Regions from separate parts of the Homo sapiens genome. Here regions 1, 2, 3, 4, 6 and 7 are each linked to region 5. Evidence: promoter capture Hi-C in 16 types of primary human blood cells and fetal thymus (Javierre and others, 2016). All regions are on one chromosome and are shown on one strand. The core of a region is centred on a gene start or on the middle of the fragment in contact, and the rest is flanking DNA. Distances in the headings are between cores, read along the strand shown. Region 1 has its middle 24 kb from the start of ADRB3. Region 2 has its middle 67 kb from the start of TACC1. Region 3 has its middle 7.9 kb from the start of TACC1. Region 4 overlaps TACC1 (transforming acidic coiled-coil containing protein 1). Region 5 holds the start of NSD3 (nuclear receptor binding SET domain protein 3). Region 6 overlaps EIF4EBP1 (eukaryotic translation initiation factor 4E binding protein 1). Region 7 has its middle 3.7 kb from the start of EIF4EBP1.

Evidence for each region. The method cuts DNA at HindIII sites, captures the fragments that hold promoters and counts their contacts. A CHiCAGO score of 5 or more calls a contact.
Region 1: a fragment that was not itself captured here is called in contact with the fragment with the promoter of NSD3 in region 5 in 1 of 17 cell types (neutrophils); the score reaches 5.2 in neutrophils.
Region 2: a fragment that was not itself captured here is called in contact with the fragment with the promoter of NSD3 in region 5 in 7 of 17 cell types (M2 macrophages, M0 macrophages, M1 macrophages and 4 more); the score reaches 26.1 in M2 macrophages.
Region 3: a contact is called between a fragment that was not itself captured here and the fragment with the promoter of NSD3 in region 5, in 9 of 17 cell types (megakaryocytes, M2 macrophages, activated CD4 T cells and 6 more). The highest score is 9.9, in megakaryocytes.
Region 4: a contact is called between a fragment that was not itself captured here and the fragment with the promoter of NSD3 in region 5, in 4 of 17 cell types (neutrophils, M2 macrophages, fetal thymus and 1 more). The highest score is 5.7, in neutrophils.
Region 6: a contact is called between a fragment that was not itself captured here and the fragment with the promoter of NSD3 in region 5, in 2 of 17 cell types (erythroblasts and endothelial precursors). The highest score is 5.8, in erythroblasts.
Region 7: a fragment that was not itself captured here is called in contact with the fragment with the promoter of NSD3 in region 5 in 3 of 17 cell types (fetal thymus, non-activated CD4 T cells and activated CD4 T cells); the score reaches 5.8 in fetal thymus.

What each region holds. Positions count from the first base shown.
Region 1 is chr8:37,989,666-37,992,365 of GRCh38, forward strand. No RefSeq gene overlaps it. Among named protein-coding and RNA genes, the nearest start is that of ADRB3, 24 kb to the left of the region's middle. The HindIII fragment of the contact is 5,430 bases long and covers 1-2,700 here.
Region 2 is chr8:38,718,587-38,721,286 of GRCh38, forward strand. No RefSeq gene overlaps it. Among named protein-coding and RNA genes, the nearest start is that of TACC1, 67 kb to the right of the region's middle. RefSeq lists an enhancer at 1,047-1,568. The HindIII fragment of the contact is 1,528 bases long and covers 562-2,089 here.
Region 3 is chr8:38,777,966-38,780,665 of GRCh38, forward strand. It overlaps a transcript of TACC1 not described here. Among named protein-coding and RNA genes, the nearest start is that of TACC1, 7.9 kb to the right of the region's middle. The HindIII fragment of the contact is 1,490 bases long and covers 607-2,096 here.
Region 4 is chr8:38,797,582-38,800,281 of GRCh38, forward strand. The region is part of intron 2 of TACC1 (transforming acidic coiled-coil containing protein 1); the gene reads left to right. Among named protein-coding and RNA genes, the nearest start is that of TACC1, 12 kb to the left of the region's middle. RefSeq lists enhancers at 1-72, 143-302. The HindIII fragment of the contact is 2,900 bases long and covers 1-2,700 here.
Region 5 is chr8:38,380,934-38,383,633 of GRCh38, forward strand. NSD3 (nuclear receptor binding SET domain protein 3) reads right to left here and starts at 1,338. Exons shown (of 24, transcript NM_023034.2): 1 at 866-1,338. It also overlaps a transcript of LETM2 not described here. RefSeq lists enhancers at 1-395, 686-1,476 and silencers at 1,125-1,524, 1,555-1,704, 1,895-2,244. The HindIII fragment of the contact is 5,398 bases long and covers 1-2,700 here.
Region 6 is chr8:38,059,167-38,061,866 of GRCh38, forward strand. It overlaps EIF4EBP1 (eukaryotic translation initiation factor 4E binding protein 1), which reads left to right. Exons shown (of 3, transcript NM_004095.4): 3 at 738-1,199. The coding sequence ends at 769. Among named protein-coding and RNA genes, the nearest start is that of EIF4EBP1, 30 kb to the left of the region's middle. The HindIII fragment of the contact is 3,672 bases long and covers 1-2,700 here.
Region 7 is chr8:38,025,506-38,028,205 of GRCh38, forward strand. No RefSeq gene overlaps it. Among named protein-coding and RNA genes, the nearest start is that of EIF4EBP1, 3.7 kb to the right of the region's middle. The HindIII fragment of the contact is 5,744 bases long and covers 1-2,700 here.

The DNA.
Region 1 (2,700 bases), core at 126-2,625, 390 kb before region 5:
AAACCCCATCTCTACTAAAAATACAAAAATTAGCTGGGGGTGGTGGCACGTGCCTGTAACCCCAGCTACCCAGGAGGCTGAGACAGGAGAATCACTTGAACTCAGGAGGCAGATGTTGCAGTGAGCTGAGATCAAGCCACTGCACTCCAGCCTGGGCAAAGAGCAAGACTCCATCACAAAATAAATAAATAAATAAATAAATAAATTATTTCATCAACATTTTGTAATTTTCAGCTTGCAGAGCCTGTGCAAGTTTTGTTCAGCTTATGCTTAAGTGTTTCACTTTCTTTGGACCATTTGTAAATGATGCAGTGTTTTAAATTTCAGTTTCCACATGTTTGTTGTTAGTATACATAAACATGATGGATTTTTGTGTGTTGATCTTGTATCTTGTAACCTGTTTAATTCACAACCAATTATAAGAGGGTTTTGGTTTGGGGGTCAGCTTTATTTTGTAGATTATTTCGGATTTTCTTTATAGACAATCATGTCATCTGCAAAGAGAAACAGTTTTATTTCTTCCTTTCCATTTCATATGTCCTTTATTTCTTTTTCTTGTCTTATTGCAGTGGCTAGAACTTTCAGAACTAGGGTGAATAAGAGAGGGGAGAGCAGGCATCCTTACCTTTTTCCCAGTCTTAGGGAGAAAGCATTCAGTCTTTCACCATTCACTATGATGTGGGCTGTCAGGTTTTTTGTAGATGCTCTTTATCAAGTTAAGGTAGTTGCCCTCTATTCCTAACTTGCTGAGAGTTTTTATCATAAATGTGCGCTAGATTTCATCAAATGCTTTTTCTTCACCAACTGATATGATTATATGATTTTTTTCTTTAGCTTGTTGATATGGTGGACTTTTTAAATATCTAAACTCTATTGATCACTTGATATGGAAGACTTGTTTTTTTACCTTCCTTTCTTGATGGCAGACTTTTGAGTGTTGTACCAGCCTATATAATGGGAATAAGTCCTACTTGGTTACAGTATATAATTATTGTTATACTTATATTAGTAATTCTATTTTTATTTTATTTTTTTGAGACAGAGTCTCACTCTGTCACCCAAGATGGAGTGCAGTGGCACGATTACAGCTCACTGCAGCCTCGACCTCTCCAGGGTCAGGTGATCTTCCCACCTCAGCCTCCGGAGTAGCTAGGACTACAGGCATGCACTACCATCCCTGGCTCATTTTTCTATTTTTTGTAGCAATGGAGTTTCACCATGCTGCCCAGGCTGGTCTGAAACTCCTGGGTTCAAGAGATCTGCCTACCATGGCCTGCTAAAGTGCTAGGATTACAGGCATGAGCCACTGTGCTGGAGCTTATATTTATAATTCTTTTACGTTGATAGATTCAATTTGCTAATATTTTATTAAGGATTTTACATCTAAGTTCATGGGAGATATTGCTCTAGAGTTTTCCATTTTAGTACTGCCTTTGTCTGTTTTGTTGTTGTTGTTGTTGTTGTTTGTTTTGGTTTTTTTTTTAGATGGAGTCACACTCTGTTGCCGGGCTGGAGTAGAGTGGCGTGATCTCGGCTCACTGCAACCTCTGCCTCCAGGTTCAAGCGATTCTCCAGCCTCAGCCTCCCCAGTAGCTGGGATTACAGGCACCTGCCACCAAGCCCAGGTAATTTTTGTACTGTTAGTAGAGACGGGGTTTCACTATGTTGGCCAGGATTGTCTCGATCTCCTGACCTTATGATCTGCCTGCCTCGGCCTCCCAAAGTGCTGGGATTACATGCATGAGCCACCGCACCCGGCCCTTTGTCTGTTTTTGGTCTCATAAAATTGGCCGGGAACAGTGGCTCATACCTGTAATCCCAGCACTTTGGGAGGTCAAGGAGGGTGGATTGCTTGAGGTCAGGAGTTAGAGACCAACTTGGCCAACAAGTTGAAACCTTGTCTCTACTAAAACTACAAAAATTAGCTGGGTGTGGTGGCTTACACCTGTAATCCCAGCTACTTGGGAGGCTGAGGCAGGAGAATCACTTGAACCTGGGAGGTGGAGATTGCAGTGAGCCAAGTTCACACCATTGCATTCCAGCCTGGGTGACGAGAGTGAAACTCCATCCCAAATAATAATAATAATAAGACAATACTGGTGTCATAAAATCAGTTAGCAAGTGTTCCCTCCTCTATTTTCTGGAAAAGGTTGTGCAAAAGAGATGTCTGCTGTTCTATGAGTGTTTGAATGAATTATCCAGTGAAACCATCCAGGCCTGCAGATTCCTCTTTTGGGAGAATATCTATTTTATCTTGATCTCAACCTCTGTGTCCACCAGATCACAAAGGCTTTGGCCAAGTTATAGAATCTAGAACTGCAAAAGGCTTTGGAAATCATCAGGTCCCACATCCTTCACCACATATGAAGAGAGGCCTGGGCCAGGTGCAGTGGCTCATGCCTGTAATCCTAGCACTCTGGGAGGCCAAGGCAGGTGAATTGCTTGAGTCCAGGAGTTCCAGACCAGACTAGACAACATGGCAAAACCCCATCAATACAAAAAAATTACCCAGATGTGGTGGCATGTGCCTGTGTCTGTTCTCACACTGCTATAAAGACATACCCAAGACTGGGTAATTTATAAAGAAAAGAAGTTTAATTAACTCACAATTCCACAGGTCTGAGGAGGCCTCAGGAAACTTACAATCTTGGAGGAAGGGGAAGCAAACATGTCTTTCTTCACATGGCAGCAGGAAGGAGA
Region 2 (2,700 bases), core at 76-2,575, 340 kb after region 5:
AAAATCAAGGATATGATTAAAAGTTTAGGGATGGTGGAAAAGACAGCTATGGACTGAGTCTACGAGTGGGTTTTTCCTCTTCCCTTTAGCAGCACCTGCTGTAGCCTCCTCCTCCTACTCTTCCTCCTCCTTCTCCTTCTTCTTCTGTTTTGAGACAGGGTCTCAGTCTGTATCCCAGGCTGGAGTGCAGTGCCGCAATCATGACTTAGTGCAGCCTTGACCTCCTGGGCTCAAGCAATGCTCCTACCTCAGCCTCTGAGTAGCTGGGACTACAGGCACCCGCCACCACACCCACCTAATTTTTAATTTTTTTTTTGTAGAAAGGAGTCTCACTACGTTGCCCAGGCTGGTCAGCAACTTTCGGCCTCAAGCCATCCTCCTGGCTAATTTTTAAAATTTTTTTGTAGAGACAAGGTCTCGTCGTGTTGTCCAGGCTGGTCTCAAGCTCCTGAGCTCAAGTGATCCTCTCCTCTTGGCCTCCCAAAGTGCTGAGTAATTTGCAGAGCCCAAGACAATCCCCGAGTCTACCCGGGGATGGCACAGGGTCAGCAGGAGACAATAAGCTTATTAATCACAGAGTATCTGGCACATATTAAGTAGGTGCTTAATATGTATGTATCAAATGAATGAATGATGTGAGTGTATCAACAGAGATTCTTTGTTTTTCCCCCGGGATTTCTCTGATTTGCCAGGACTCCAAGTCTGATTGGCTTGGGTAGGAGGAAGAAGAGTCCTTGGGGCCGCCCAGGTGCTTCAGGCAAGGTGTCTCCCTTCATCCTTATAAAACCCTTTACGCCCTTCCGGTGTGTGCAACCGAATGGATGGTGGAGGGAACCCTAAAGAGAGAAATGAAAAAGTACATAATATCTTGTATTTGGAATGGAAGTCCTCCTTTTGTAGAAGTATGTGTGTTATTGATAATGGCTAGGGGAGAAACAAGATAAGATCAATTTCACTAAAGTACCTTCGTCCCTCCTCCCTCCCTTCTTTCCTCCCTCCTCCCTCCCTTTACAGTCAGTAGTTCAGATTTACAATCTCTTACCCTAGAGCCGGGTGTACTTCGGGATTCTGGATTTTCTCAGGTTTTAGGAAGGTAATGAGAGGTGACAGCGTGCTGGCAGTCCTCACAGCCCTCGCTCGCTCTCGGCGCCTCCTCTGCCTGGGCTCCCACTTTGGCCGCACTTGAGGAGCCCTTCAGCCTGCCACTGCACTGTGGGAGCCCCTTTCTGGGCTGGCCAAGGCCGGAGCCGGCTCCCTCAGCTTGCGGGGAGGTGTGGAGGGAGAGGCGCGGGCGGGAACCGGGGCTGCGCGCGGTGCTTCCGGGCCAGCGCGAGTTCCGGGTGGGCATGGGCTTGGCGGGCCCCACCGGCCCCGGGCAGTGAGGGGCTTAGCACCTGGGCCAGCAGCTGCTGGGCTCAATTTCTCGCCGGGCCTTAGCTGCCTTCCCGCGGGGCAGGGCTCGGGACCTGCAGCCCGCCATGCCTGAGCCTCCCCCGCCTCTGTGGGCTCCTTTGCGGCCCTAGCCTCCCCGACGAGCGCCGCCCCCTGCTCCACGGCGCCCAGTCCCACCGACCACCCAAGGGCTGAGGAGTGCAGGCGCACGGCGTGGGACTGGCAGGCAGCTCCACCTGCAGCCCCGGTGCCCGATCCACTGGGTGAAGCCAGCTGGGCTCCTGAGTTTGGTGGGGACGTGGAGAACCTTTATGTCTAGCTAAGGGATTGTAAATACACCAATCTGCACTCTGTATCTAGCTCAAGGTTTGTAAACACACCAATCAGCACCCTGTGTCTATCTAGCTCAGGGTTTGTGAATGCACCAATGGACACTCTATATCTAGCTACTCTGGTGGGGACTTGGAGAACCTTTGTGTCCACACTGTATCTAGCTAATCTGGTGGGGAGGTGGAGAACCTCTGTGTCTAGCTCAGGGATTGTAAACGCACCAATCAGCACCCTGTCAAAACAGACCACTCTGCTCTCTGTAAAATGGACCAATCAGCAGGATGTGGGTGGGGCCAGATAAGAGAATAAAAGCAGGCTGCTGGAGCCAACAGTGGCACCCTGCTGGGGTCCCCTTCAACACTATGGAAGCTTTGTTCTTTTGCTCCTTGCAATAAATCTTGCTGCTGCTCACTCTTTGGGTCCACACTGCCTTTATGAGCTGTAAGACTCACCGTGAAGGTCTGCGGCTTCACTCCTGAAGCCAGCGAGACCACGAACCCACCGGGAGGAACGAACAGCTCCAGACGCGCCGCCTTAAGAGCTGTAACACTCACCACGAAGGTCTGCAGCTTCACTACTGATCCAGCGAGACCACAAACCCACCAGAAGGAAGAAACTCCGAACACATCCAAACATCAGAACAAACAAACTCCGGACACGCTGCCTTTAAGAACTGTAACACTCACCGCAAGGGTCCCCGACTTCATTCTTGAAGTCAGTGAGACCAAGAACCCACCAATTCCGCACACAGTGACACAACCCAATATACCTTTTATTATATCAAACCCCGAGTGGGCTAGGGGAGCACCTTGTAATCAAACATATAAACCCTTTCTGCAGCGAAATGTAAGAATATTCAAGCTAAGTAGGATAGTACGTAACTTCAGGTCAGTTGAGGTCAGGTTTTGCTGCCCCACAGTTACGAAATGCTTGTGGTTTCCAGAGTGGGGAAGTTTGGAAATGTGGATAAGGGATCGC
Region 3 (2,700 bases), core at 102-2,601, 400 kb after region 5:
ATAAGGAAATGATGGATACAGATGGATACAGGATGTGGGGTGAGGGAATTAGGCTCTACCATGGTGATCTTGTGGAAATTCAAAGAGTAGAGGTGCATAGACACACAATGTTAAAGAAGCATTATAGTTTTTCTTTTTTATCTTTGTGTGTGTGCATGTGTGTAGAGATGGGCTCTCACTGTGTGGTCCAGGCTGGTCTCAAACTCCTGGGCTCAAGCGATCCTCCTGCCTTCGTCTCCCAAAGTGTTGGGATTACAATCATGAGCCACCACACCTGGCCTTTTGCTTTTTTATCTTAATAATTAAAATTGTGTGTGTGTGTGTGTGTGTGTATGTGTGTGTTTACAATGGGTACAGAAGGAACAGAGCCATGAATTATGTTTCACAATCTGTGTAGGAGATATCTTTTGACAGTTTTATCCAGTTTCCAACAGTTAAATATTTTTGTTTCCTCTAAGAAGACAGAGGTCAGTGTGACCCCCTCGCTCCATAAATGGACATTTCACTTACTGAGTTGAGGCCAGCTGAACCACTCCTGAGCCACAGGCAGGAATCTCTTTTGTTCTCTGGGCAGAGCTGAATTTACTATGAAGCTGAGGAAGCCTAAGCTTCAGTCCCCTCCCTTGCATGGGCCCCTTCATACTAGTGTGGCCCTAGCACTGTGTTCATGGGGTCCTTTAGCATTTTTCTTAAAGAGTGCTTCCCCAGTTTTTAGGCTTCCTGCTTCACAAAATCAGGCCTTGGCAACCTGTTTGATGCCTCCTTTCTTTGCTGAGCCTTGCTACTTTTTCCCAGATGGGGAGAGGCTCCTGGGTGTCATTTCCCTCATCAACATAGTTTCTTGGAAGAAACCACCCTAAAAGGAAGTATAGCGAAAGAGCATCCCAAAGAAAGAGATGTTAAAATTAATCCTTTTGCACCTCCCACATAAAGTATGCCTTTTATGCTCTGGCCCAATTTTTTGTGCCTTTGAGGATTCTCATTTGTATCAGTAGGGGTCCTTGGGTTTTTTTTTTTTTTTTCTTTTCTTTTTAGACAAGGTCTCGCTCTGTCACCCAATCTGGAATGCAATGCCACAATCACGGCTTACTTCAGCCTTGACCTTCTGGGCTCAAGCGATCCTCCTGGGCTCAAGATTAGCTGGGACTACAGGCGAACACCACCACGCCTGGCTACTTTTTAATTTTTTTATAGAGATGGGGTTTTGCTATGTTGCTCAGGCTGGTCTCAAAGTCCTGGGCTCAAGTTATCCTCCTGCCTCAGCCTCCAAAAGTGCTGGGATTATAGGAAGATGCCACTATGCCTGGCTGAAATGCTCTTTTTTTATGGTACTTTGGCTCAACTGGCAAATGCCTTCTTGAAATGAGCATTTCACACTTTGGTCACCACACAGTCACTTAGATGAAACCCACAGGCTGCCCAGTAACATGGGCTCCCACTGGGCATTTGGGGAAGGGCACACCCTGCCTGGAGTGGTGAGCACTGCTAGGCCTGCTCTCCGCCCTTTTCCACCCTCCGGGTGTCTTCAAAGCTGGCTGTTTTCTACACTAACTTCTGGCAGGTCTGGATTTTCCGTATAAGGGCTTTTTTGGCCAGTACTTCCTTATACTGAAGAATTTTATATTAGTTCCCTTTCAGATTCGAAAATCAATCTTTAGTCAACCTAAAACATTATTCCTGGAGTGGGGCTTGACTGTATGTGGGGAAGAGGAGAGGGAGAGACTGATGCAAATATGCACACACACATACTTTTTGCATACAATTTCAGGGAGGCCAGGACCTTCTGAAACCCTTCCTTGCTAAGCCTCTGCTGTAGAGGGTGAAATGCAGCCAAGTTAACTTGTTAACAACAACAAAAAGGCCGTAACAATACTTTCCTCCTGAGATTGTAGGAGTAAGTGGGGGAGATTAAATGAGACGATTCATGTAAAGTGTAGTGTCTAACACATAGTAAGCAGTTATAATTGTTCACTTTTCTTTTGGGGCTTAAATGATCTTACTTGTTTTCACGAGTTCCTTAGGTAATAACAATACTAACAGCCTTTGTTTTTCCATGGCCTGTTGTTTGCCTTTTAACTTGAAGGCACACAGTCAGAAGCTTCATTTTTTTAAATGTAACCAAATCTATCTTTATTTTGTGTCTGATTTCATTAATTACTTGTAAGTTGGATCCTCATCCTTCCTACAGAGCTCTGATAGATTCTGTTGCTTGTAGACTGTTTTCTCCCAATGGTTCGATTTTTATTATTTAGTCATCTAATCCATCTGGAATTTATCCTGGTATATGCTCTGAGGTAAGGGTTTAACTTGATCTTTTTTCCCATTGCCAGCCAACTATGCTCCAATCATAAATCTTCCTTCTCCTTACATATTGTAACATGTTCTTTATATTTTTGTTGTTTGTTCTTTTTTTTTGAGATAGAGTCTCGCTCTGTTGCCCAGGCTGGAGTGCAGTGGCACGATCTTGGCTCACTGCAACCTCCGCCTCCCGGGTTCAAGCCATCTTTTTTGGTATATAATAAATTCCTGTATCTTGTAAGATCTTTTCCTGGGCTTTCTGTTCTGTGTTACAGAACAAAGATCTGGCTATTTTTGCATAAATGTGTCTCAATGTCTTGTAGGACTAGTCTATTCTTCACTCTTCTTGTTGGTGTTGTTTTTTTTTGTTTTTTTTTTACAAAATCTAAAATATGTTCACCA
Region 4 (2,700 bases), core at 14-2,513, 420 kb after region 5:
TCTGGAGGCCCCTCTCTTGCTGAACATTCCTCCCTCTTCTTCTTTATCCAGCATCAGCTTCTCAGCTCCATGTGGGTGGTTGCTACTTTGTGAGAGAGGCAGTTGGTATTTTGAATTTTCCAGTAATTATTTCTGAAGAGATGCACATTATGGTTGTTTGGCAGCAACAGATTGAAGTTACACAATCCCAGATCTCTGCACAGGAGCCCCATCTGTTAGCACGTGCTCTTTCCCCCCTTGCTCTTCCTGCCAGAATAGGTTGGGGATGGGGGAGAAGTTTTGTGGGGAGGGCCTTCTATGATTTCTGTCTGTGGAAGGGGATTTCTACTCTGTCTAAAATATAACCTCAAACAAATCCAGATGGTTCCAGAACCCATGGGCATCTCATGAGTGAGAAGAGAAGACACATTCATTGCTGGATTGGCTTCTCTGGAGGAGGCTTTGGCTTCCTGGTGGGTGGACACTTCCTGATAAGCAAGTCCCATCCTCTTACCTTATAATCTTGGCCTTTAGAGATACGGTTTGGGTCTCTTTTTATTTTTCTTCCTTTTTTTTTTTTAGAGACAGGGTCTTGCTGTGTTGCCCAGGCTGGAGTGTGGTGGTACAATCATAGCTCACTGCAGCCTCAACTCCCAGTCTTAAGGGATCCTCCTGACTCAGCCTTCCGAGTAGCTGGGACTACAGGCGTGTACCACTACACCTGGCTTGGGTGTCTTTTTAAATAAAATAGCATAAAGTGCTGTTTTGGAAATTTGAAGTGCTTTCTTCATCCTTAGTACAAACTTTTTTCAGTTTACCAAGTGGTTTTCCAGATTATTCTTTACCTGTAGAGTCTTAGGTTTTAGGGGGAGCCTCTCTCAGGAGTTAGAGGCTTATCTCAGGAGAACAGCAGTGTAGCTGGTGCCCTGTCTCTTAAAAAAGCAATGAAATTTGCCCTACCGTGACTTCTGGGTAATGTTTTTGTTTGGGGGTTTTTTGGAGGTTAGGAAGGGGTTTAAACAGGTAGTTTGTTGTCTGGGTTCTGCGTGTGTGTGTGTGTGTGTGTGTGTGTGTGTGTGTATGTGTATTTTTCTGCTTTGGTTGGTGAGACAGCTTAAAACTATGATGTACCTAAGAGGATGGTCTGCCTTGACTCACCCACTCAGAATCCCGCTGACCCACCCCTCTCCCATGCTTCCGGGGATCCTGGGCCCCAGCAGTTGTTGGGGAAATGTGAGCTATGCAGCCCATACCCTTAGATTGTATCCCGCATTCCTGGAAAAGGGCCTATTGTACGGTTGTTCCAACCCTGGACAATAAATTGTGTACTTCTCCATTTTAAGGCTGATGACTAAGTGAGAACGAACATATATAAAATACACTTCAACTTTGGAGGAATCAGAGAGACTGGGAACCCAAAGACATGAAACTGGGGGAAAAAAACACTCAAATTTTGGACTTTTAGCATTAATGCTAATATACATCTGATTAACAGTCTCCTCAGGGCAGACCACTTGAGCAGAAAGGGTTGGTGCCAGAATCACGCTTGTTTCCCTCCTGAAGCCCTTGATTCAGTGTGGGGGAGGAGAGCTGGGAGGGCAAGACCAAGGCACGGAAAGGAGGAGTGGGACCTTCAGGGCAAAGGGCCAAGGGAAGAGCTATGCCAAGCCATCCCCCAGCCGTTAGCCTAGAGCTGAGCTGCGGCATCACTGAACAATTAGCTAGGCCTTCTCAGTATGCGACAGATGAGGTGAGGAGGAGTCCTTTATGTATCAGACACTTGCCCTGCAGTGGGCACTGATTGAGCATCAGCTCTGTCTTGGACGCTCAGTTTCTGCTCCCAGGGATACAAAGAGTAAGGCCCCTGTGGGGCTCCGAGTCTGGAGGGAGCTAGCCCTGTCCTGTTTCCCAGACCTCTTGGCCGCCTTGGCATCCCAAGAAGTTTTAGCAGCAAAAGATAGGGAATTTGTGAGGGAAGAAATTCCCCCGCAAATCTGGAGGTCAAATGTTAAAAGGAAGAAGGCAAATGTTAAAAGTTAGAATTTTAAAAATCCCCCTGCCCACAAAGTAAAAAAAGCCTTTTGGGCTTGACAATTATAACTCTAGGATGTTTCATATACCATACTTGGCTACATCTGTTGTGGAAAAGAGGGATGATGTCATTTTTTTCACCTCTTTCTGTAAATAGAATTTATGTAGCACATGTGGGCTTCCTCAAGAGAAATTTAAAACCCCAAATTGATGGGATGGTGAGACCTACCACCTCTCTCAAGCATGTGTCTCTCCAAGTGACACACATAAGACACTATTTAAAGCATGTACTTTGGATGTGTGTGCTGGCTCACTCCTGTAATCCCAGCACTTTGGGAGGCCAAAGCAGGAGGATTGCTTGAGACCAGCCTGGGCAACAAAATGAGACCCCGACTCTACCAAAAACAAACAAACAAAAAATTAGCAGGGCATGATGGCTTGTGCCTTTAGTCCCAGCTGCTCAGAAGGCTAAGGTGGGAGGATCACTTGAGCTTGGGAGGTTGAGGCTCCAGTGAGCCGTAATCGCCCCACTGTACTCCAGCCTGGACAACAGAGCAAATCTGTGTGGTATAGTTGAACATTTTACTAGAAATCACAGGACATTCCTCCTGCTCCATTTCCCTCGGGTCTGAGCCTCCATGTTCTTTTTTAAAAATAGTTTTATTGAGATATAGTTTACCTGCCATACAA
Region 5 (2,700 bases), core at 88-2,587:
TGCCTCCCTTCCATAACACAAACACATCGCCTTCTCCCTCAAAACAGTAAAACCCACACCTCCCCATTTCACAACAATCACAATCCCATAACCACCAGCTTCTCTATTCTCTAGCCTTGAAAGAAAGACACAGAATACACACAAATACAGGAACAAAAGGCCTCCCTTCCTAACACTTTAACGACCTCCATCCCCTTCTCTTCCTCCCACTCTGACGCTAAGTCGATCGTTCTCATCCCTGTCATCATTCAGTTAATTTCCTTCCCTAGCCCAATCCTGTCTTCCAGTTTCCTGCGTCTATTTCCCATTCTCCTATTGCAGCCTGCCTCATCCCCTTTCCTAATCCACCTTTTCCTTCACTTCCATTCCTCATTTCTCCCTTCATTCCCATAAAATGCCCCATTTCTCCAGCAAATTTATCCCCTTCTCCCAGACTCTTCTGGTTCCTACACTCCATCCCCAAATCTCCCTATTTATCAGTCCACCCAGGTCTGTAATCTCCATGCAACTCTTCTCCCCTTTCCCTGCCCCTCCCCGATCCATCCTTATCCCCGCCCCCATCCCACTTTCCCAATTCCCAGCTCAGCGCCACTCCGACTCCCATCCCACTCCCCACCTCCCCTGGCCCACCCCCCAATTCCCTCCACACCCCCCACCTTGCCATCTGCTCCTCCGTCAGGACTCCCCTCGAGCCCTTTCAGGCCACCCGCTTCCCCTTCCATTCCTCCTGGGGTCTGGCGCTCCATCCCTAGGTCGCCCCCTCCCCGTCGTTCCCTCCTCAGCCCTTCCTAGCACTACACACGCGCGCGCGCGCACACACACACACACACACACACACACATACACACACGCACACGCACTTTACCTTCAGTTTGTTCCATTCTAACCCCCCGGCCGTGTCAGTGCGATCACAGGAGAGACACGGAGGCCCGGAGTGGGGCTGGGGTGCGGGCAGCCGCTGGGGCCGCGCGAGGAGGAGGCGGAACCGAGCTAGGCCGCATGAAATCCCCGGGCTAGATTTTCCCCGCGCCGGACGCCTCTGCCATGGCGGCCGGCACTGAGGAGGGCCACGGCCGGGCCGGGCCGGGCGTGCTGCGGGAAGAGGAAGGCTCGGGAGGTGGGATGGGAAGGGGAGGCCGAGGGACGGGGGTCGCCGCGCCGCCGCTGCTGCCAGAGAGGAGCCTGCGGCTGGCAGCCCGGCCTGGGTAGCACGGTCCTCGGCGCTCGGCTCGGAATTCGCACGCCTCTCCGCGGCGACCTGTGCACAGCCCCCTCGGCCTCCGCCTCCGTGCTGGCCGCCGCCGCCGCCTCTCCCGCCGCCGCCGCGCACAAAGCCCCCCCACCCCGACTCTCGGGGCGCCGCCGCCGCCAAATCCTCAGCCCCTCATTGGCCGCGGGCCGCGGCGCCTGCCGGGAAATGCAGTCCCTGGTTCGGGACGCTGGGGCTCCGGAGGAAGCGGCGAGTCGGCGGGGCGGAGGGGGCGGGAGCGCGAACCAGGAACGCCCGCGGCAGCTAGCGTCTGGACGACTAGGGAGACCGGGCGAGAGGGCCGAGGAACGAGGGACGGGGAGGGACTGTACGTGGGAGAGTGACACACAAAACACCCCGGGAAGCCGGAGGAGGCGTGGAAAGGTGGGGCCCGGGAGGTAAAACTGGGATCGGCGCGTTCAGTGAGGCTGATTAAAGAACAACGCGCAACCAGCGCCATACGGCGCTCCTCAGGGTGACTCGGCTCTCTAGCTCTTAAGGGTTAGAAGCGACCCTCGCACGGTCCCCGGTGGGTCACCGCGCGAGGGCGGGGCAGTCCAGGCGACCCCTCGGCCGTCTCCCGTCCTACGGCTGTCAGGGAAGGGCTCCGGTTCCGGTAGGGTCTGCATTTGGAAAGCCGGGGGCGATGCAAGACCGCCTTGGCGTCGTCTCCCTCTCAGCCCCGGCTGAGCTGTCGGATGGTCCCCCTCCCCCGGTTGCAAGCAGTAGGAGACCCGGCCGGCGGCGCCGGCTCGCCGAGGGAGCGCCTCGACCTCCCCGGCAGGCGCCGGCCCCGCGCGCCTCTTCCTGCTCTGCTGCGGCCCGGAGGCTTGTGGGTAACCGGGAGGACGACGTCAGCGCCCGCCGCATCCCCGGGTGCCCCCCAGCCGCGGGGGACCGCGACGGCTCCGTGACCGTCACGTGCCGGAGGCCGCGGCTGCTCGCGGCCAGACCTTCGCATCGAGGGACGTGAGGGACATTTGTCCTAGAGGGCCCAAGATAAGAACGAGAGGAAGAACCGGGAGGCAACTCTCCGTCATCCTCTAGCCCCCCGCATCCTAGGAAACGTATGGAAAACAATGGAAGGTTAAGTGTGTGCACAGTGATCTGGCCCTGCAGGAGTGTGCCGACCAGGTGATATTTCCTGGGGCCTGGTGATAAGGATTTGGAAGGTTACAGCACAGAGACGTGAACGTAAAAAGGAAACAGAGGCAGCAAGCAAATGAGGAAACCGATACTCTGTTCTGAGAATAAAGCCATTTTACCGCTAGACGTCATACTCTGTAGACGTTATAGTGCTGGATGTCTTTGGTACTATTACAAGAAATTAGATATCTCTATCTTTAAATATCACTTAAGGAAATTAAATGATTTCTACAGATCAGTTATTTAAAAGGGCACTAATTATGAACTATTTTTTTTAAACGTAACCCGGTTAATACTAGATACTG
Region 6 (2,700 bases), core at 124-2,623, 320 kb before region 5:
GTAATCCCCAGTGTTGGAGGTAGGGCCTGGTGGGAGGTGTTTGGGTCGTGGGGACAGATCCCTCACAGCTTGGTGCTGTCCTCATGATAGTGAATGAGTTCTCTCGAGATCTGGTTGTTGTAAAGTGTGGGAGCGCCACTCCACCCTCTCTCTTGCTCCTGCTTCCTCCATGTGACATGCCTGCTCCCGCTTTGCTTTCCACCATGACGAAAAGCCCCCTGAGGCCTCCCCAGAAGCCAAGCTGAGGCCGGCGTCATGCTTGTACAGCCTGCAGAACCGCGAGCCAGTTAAACCTCTTTTCTTGGCTGGGCACGGTGGCTCGCACCTGTAATCCCAGCACTTTGGGAGGCTGAGGAGGGTGGATCATCTGAGATCAGGAGTTCGAGACCAGCCTGGCCAACATGGCAAAACCCCGGGTCTACTAAAAATACAAAAATTAGCTGGGTGTGGTGGTGGGTGCCTATAATCCCAGCTACTCTTTTGGGAGGCTTAGGTAGGAGAATCGCTTGAACCCAGGAGGCGGAGGTTGCAGTGAGCCGAAATTGGGCCACTGCACTCCAGCCTCGGAGACAGAGTGAGACTCCATCTCAAAAAAAAAAAACAAAAAAACAAAAAAAAACTTATTTTCTTTATAAATTACCCAACCTCAGGTATTTCTTTATAGCAATGAAAGAATGGCCTCATATACCAAGCATTCACCCATTGTTGACCTGGCCCTCTGTCCCCTCTCTCCCCAGGTGAAGAGTCACAGTTTGAGATGGACATTTAAAGCACCAGCCATCGTGTGGAGCACTACCAAGGGGCCCCTCAGGGCCTTCCTGGGAGGAGTCCCACCAGCCAGGCCTTATGAAAGTGATCATACTGGGCAGGCGTTGGCGTGGGGTCGGACACCCCAGCCCTTTCTCCCTCACTCAGGGCACCTGCCCCCTCCTCTTCGTGAACACCAGCAGATACCTCCTTGTGCCTCCACTGATGCAGGAGCTGCCACCCCAAGGGGAGTGACCCCTGCCAGCACACCCTGCAGCCAAGGGCCAGGAAGTGGACAAGAACGAACCCTTCCTTCCGAATGATCAGCAGTTCCAGCCCCTCGCTGCTGGGGGCGCAACCACCCCTTCCTTAGGTTGATGTGCTTGGGAAAGCTCCCTCCCCCTCCTTCCCCAAGAGAGGAAATAAAAGCCACCTTCGCCCTAGGGCCAAGAGTTGGGCCCCGTCTGAGCTTTTTTCAACTCTGTTTGGTAACTAACACCAGCTGCTATCTGTACAGTGCTGCTGCTTTTTTTTTTTTTTTTTTTTTGAGACGGAGTTTCACTCTTGTGGCCCAGGCTGGAGTGCAATGGCGCAATCTCAGCTGATTGCAACCTCCACCTCCTGGGTTCAAGCAATTCTCCTGCCTCAGCCTCCCGAGTAGCTGGGATTACAGGTGCCCGCCACCATGCCCAGCTAGTATTTTTTTGTATTTTTGTAGAGACAGGGTTTCACCATGTTGGCCAGGCTGGTCTCGAACTCTTGACCTCAGGTGATCCACCCGCCTTGGCCTCCCAAAGTGCTGGGATTACAGGTGTAAGCCACCGTGCCCAGCCTTGTACAGTGCTTCTAAAGCGTGGGCCTGTCCTTATTTGATTCTGACTCTGATCCTGTGGGTAAGTAGAACAACTGTTATCCTCACTTTACAGCTGAGAAGACTGGCACAAGAACAGGTAAAATCGTGCAGCTGCTGAATGGCACATGGGACTGGATTTGAGTCCTGCTACTCTTTTTTTTTTTTTTTTCCGAGACGAAGTCTTGCTCTGTCTCCCAGGCTGGAGTGCAGTGGCACAGTCCTAGCTCACTGCAGCCTCAAACTCCTAGGTTCAAGCAATCCTCCTGCTTCAGCCTCCTGAGTAGCTGGGACTACAAGTTCACACCACCACCTGGCTAAGTTTTTTGTGAGTAGAGATAAGGTCTTGCTATGTTGCCCAGGCTGGTCTTGAACTCCTGGTCTCAAGTGATCCTCCCACCTCAGCGTTCCAAATTGTTGGGATGACAGATGTGAGCCACCACGCCCAGCCCATACCCTGGTATTCTTGATCTCTTGTTTTTCAGTAGCAAGGCAGCTGCCTCGCTTCTGTGCTTTCTCCCCCTTCTCTCAACCCCAAGCCTGTCGAGTTTGGCACCTTCCCGTCAGGGCCCATTCCATGCAAGAGTCAAAGGGAAGAGCCCCTGCCTTGGCCAGTGTGGCATCTGATCTGCGGGCACTCGACCTTTGCCAATTGATCGCTTTGTGTGAGCTGTCATGTGTGGCACAAACACAGACAAGCTCTCTGCCTTGAAAATTTCATTGAAATGTAAGATTTGCCCGAAAGTAAAGGTAGCATAGGCTGGGCACAGTGGTTCAAGCCTGTAATCCCAGGATTTTGGGAGGCTGAGGTGGGAGGATTGATTGAGGCCAGGAGTGGGAGACCAGTCTGGGCAACGCAGTAAGACCCCGTCTCTACAGAAAATTTTTTAAGTAGCCAGACATGGTGGTGCACACCTGTGGTCCTAGCCACTCAGGAGGCTGAGGTGGGAGGAACACTTGAGCCCAGGAGTTCAAAGCTGTGGTGAGCCACGATTGTGCCACTGCACTCCAGTGACAGAGTAGAGGCTTCATGGAGGTGATGCTACAGCTGGACCCTGGGAATGAGTGGGTTGGGGGAGGCAGGGGCCCAGTGTTGCCAAGCT
Region 7 (2,700 bases), core at 74-2,573, 360 kb before region 5:
AATAATAATAATTTAAAAATCACTAGATTATTTATTTATACTTAGAGATGAAGCCTCACTATGTTGCCCAGGCTGGCCTCAAACTCCTGAGCTCAAGTGATTCTCCCACCCCAGCCTCTCAAATAGCTAGGACTACAGGCGCGTACGTGCCTGTGCCTTGCTTCTTTGTAATACTCTTTATAAAATACCGGGAAACCTAAGTGTTTCCCTGAGTTTTGTGAGCCACTCTAGCAAATGAATCAAACCCAAGGCCCGGGTTGTCAGAAGCACAGATCACAGGCTGTACTTTTGACTGACATCTCAAGTGGGGGGCAGTCTTGTAGGACTGAGCCCTTAACCTGTGGGATCTTGCACTATCTCCAGGCAGATAATGTCAGAATTTGACTGAATTAGAGGACATCGAGCTGGTGTCCCTTGGAGAATCTACCTTGGCCAAATTGCTCGGTTGCTGTGTAAGGAGGAAACCTCACCCAGCTGGTGTCTGAGTGTGGAGTTGGACATGTGAGAAGAAGAAGAAGAATTTGGGTTTTTTTCCTATGTCCTTTTCTACTCAATTACAAGACTTGATATTGTCAACCTAAGGAAGAAGCTGAGGCAAAATTAATATAAGTAGGGAGTTTATTTGGGCTAAACTTGAGGACTGCAACCCAGGAGCATAGATTCATGTCCTGAATATACACTCCAATTAACAGGAATTACAAGTTTACAAGTTACAAGTTTAAGGCAATAGGTTCTGATACAAAGTGGTCTGTCAAGAAATCTCATTGGTTTACAGAAATAGTATCAATTAATCATTCTCCATACATTGATTTTTAATTTTTAATTTTATTTTATTTTTGAGATGAGGCACTCTGTCACCCAGGCTGGAGTGCAGTGGCGTGATCTTGGCTCAGTGCAACCTCTGCCACCCAGGTTCAAGCGATTCTCCTGTCTCAGCTTCCCTAGTAGCTGGGACTACAGGCGCATACCACCACACCTGGCTACTTTTTGCATTTTTAGTAGAGACGGGGTTTCACCATGTTAGCCAGACTGGTCTCAAACTCCTGACCTCAGGTGATCCGCCTGCCTCGGCCTCGCAAAGTGCTAGGATTATAGGCGTGAGCTACAACTCCCGGCCACATTTTAAAAATTTTTTTGTAGAGATGAAGGGGGAGGGTCTCTCTGTTGCCCAGGCTGGTCTCAAACTCCTGGCCTCAAGCCATCCTCTCACCTTGGCTTGCCAAAGTGTGGAAATCATAGGAGTAAGCCACTGCACCCAGCCTTGGCTATACACTGTTAAGTTATAGTGTCCACACCCTATATAGTCTTTAGTGCAGCATTATTATTAATAGGTTAATTTATGGCTACTTGTGACAATAGCAAGCAGTTTCAAGAGATGAATACATAGCTCAAAAGGGGGTAGTGGGACGTGATTGCTGTCTCATTTTAATGTCTAGGCCTGATAATTTAAAAGGATTCCCATTCCTCAGATAAAAGCTGTTTTTTCCATATGAATGAGTTCCTGCTCTAGAAAAAGGTAGAGGGGCCAGTCACAGTGGCTCATGCCTGTAATCCCAAAACTTTAAGAGGCTGAGGAGGGAGGATCACTTGAGGCCAGGAGTTTGAGACCAACCTAGGTAACATAGCAAGATCTCATTTCTACAAAAATTTTTTTTTTTTTGAGATGGAGTCTTGCTGTTGCCCAGGCTAAAGTGTAGTGGCAGGATCTTGGCTCACTGCAACCTATGCCTCCTGGGTTCAAGTGATTCTCCTGTCTCAGCCTCCTGAGTAGCTGGGATTACAGGCACACACCACCACGCCTGGCTAATTTTTGTATTTTTAGTAGAGACAGGGTTTCACCATGTTGGCCAGGTGGTCTCCTGACCTCAGGTGATCTGTCTGCCTCGGCCTCCCAAAGTGCTGGGATTACAGGCATGAGCCACCTCGCCCGGCCAAAAAATTCTTTTCTTTAATTAGCCAAGTGCAGTGGCATGCACCTGTAATCCCAGCCACTGGGGAGGCTGAGGTGGGAGGATGGCTTGAGCCCAGGAGTTGGAAGCTGCACTGAGTTATGATTGTGCCTATAATTAGCCACTGCACTCCAGCCCAGGCAACAGAGTGAAACTCTTTTTTTTTTTGAGATGGAGTCTCGCTCTGTCACCCAGGATGGGTGCAGTGGCACGATCTCAGCCCACTGCAACTTCTGCCTCCCAGTTTGAAGCGATTATCCTGCCTTAGCCTCCCGAGTAGCTGGGACTACAGGCGTCTGCCATCATGCCCGGGTAATTTTTTTTTTTCGTATTTTTAGTAGAGATGGGGTTTCACCGTGTTAGCCAGGATGGTCTCAATCTCCTGACCTCGTGATCTGCCCCCCTCGGCCTACCAAAGTGTTGGGATTACAGGCGTGAGCCACCACACCCGGCCTGAAACTCTCTCTTTTTTGAAACAAGGTCTTACTATGTTGCCCAGGCTGGTCTCTGAACTCCCGGCCTCAAGCAATCCTCTGGCCTTGTAATCCCAGCTAGGGCTGGGATTACAAGTGCACATCGCTGCAACCAGCAAGGCCTGGTCTATTTTTATCTTATATTATTTATTTATTTTTTGAGCCCTGGCTGGAGTGCAGTGGTGCAATCTTGGCTCATGGCAACCTCCACCTCTGGGGCTCAGGTCATCTTCCTACCTCATCCTTGAAAGTAGCTGGGACCACAGGTGTGAGCCACA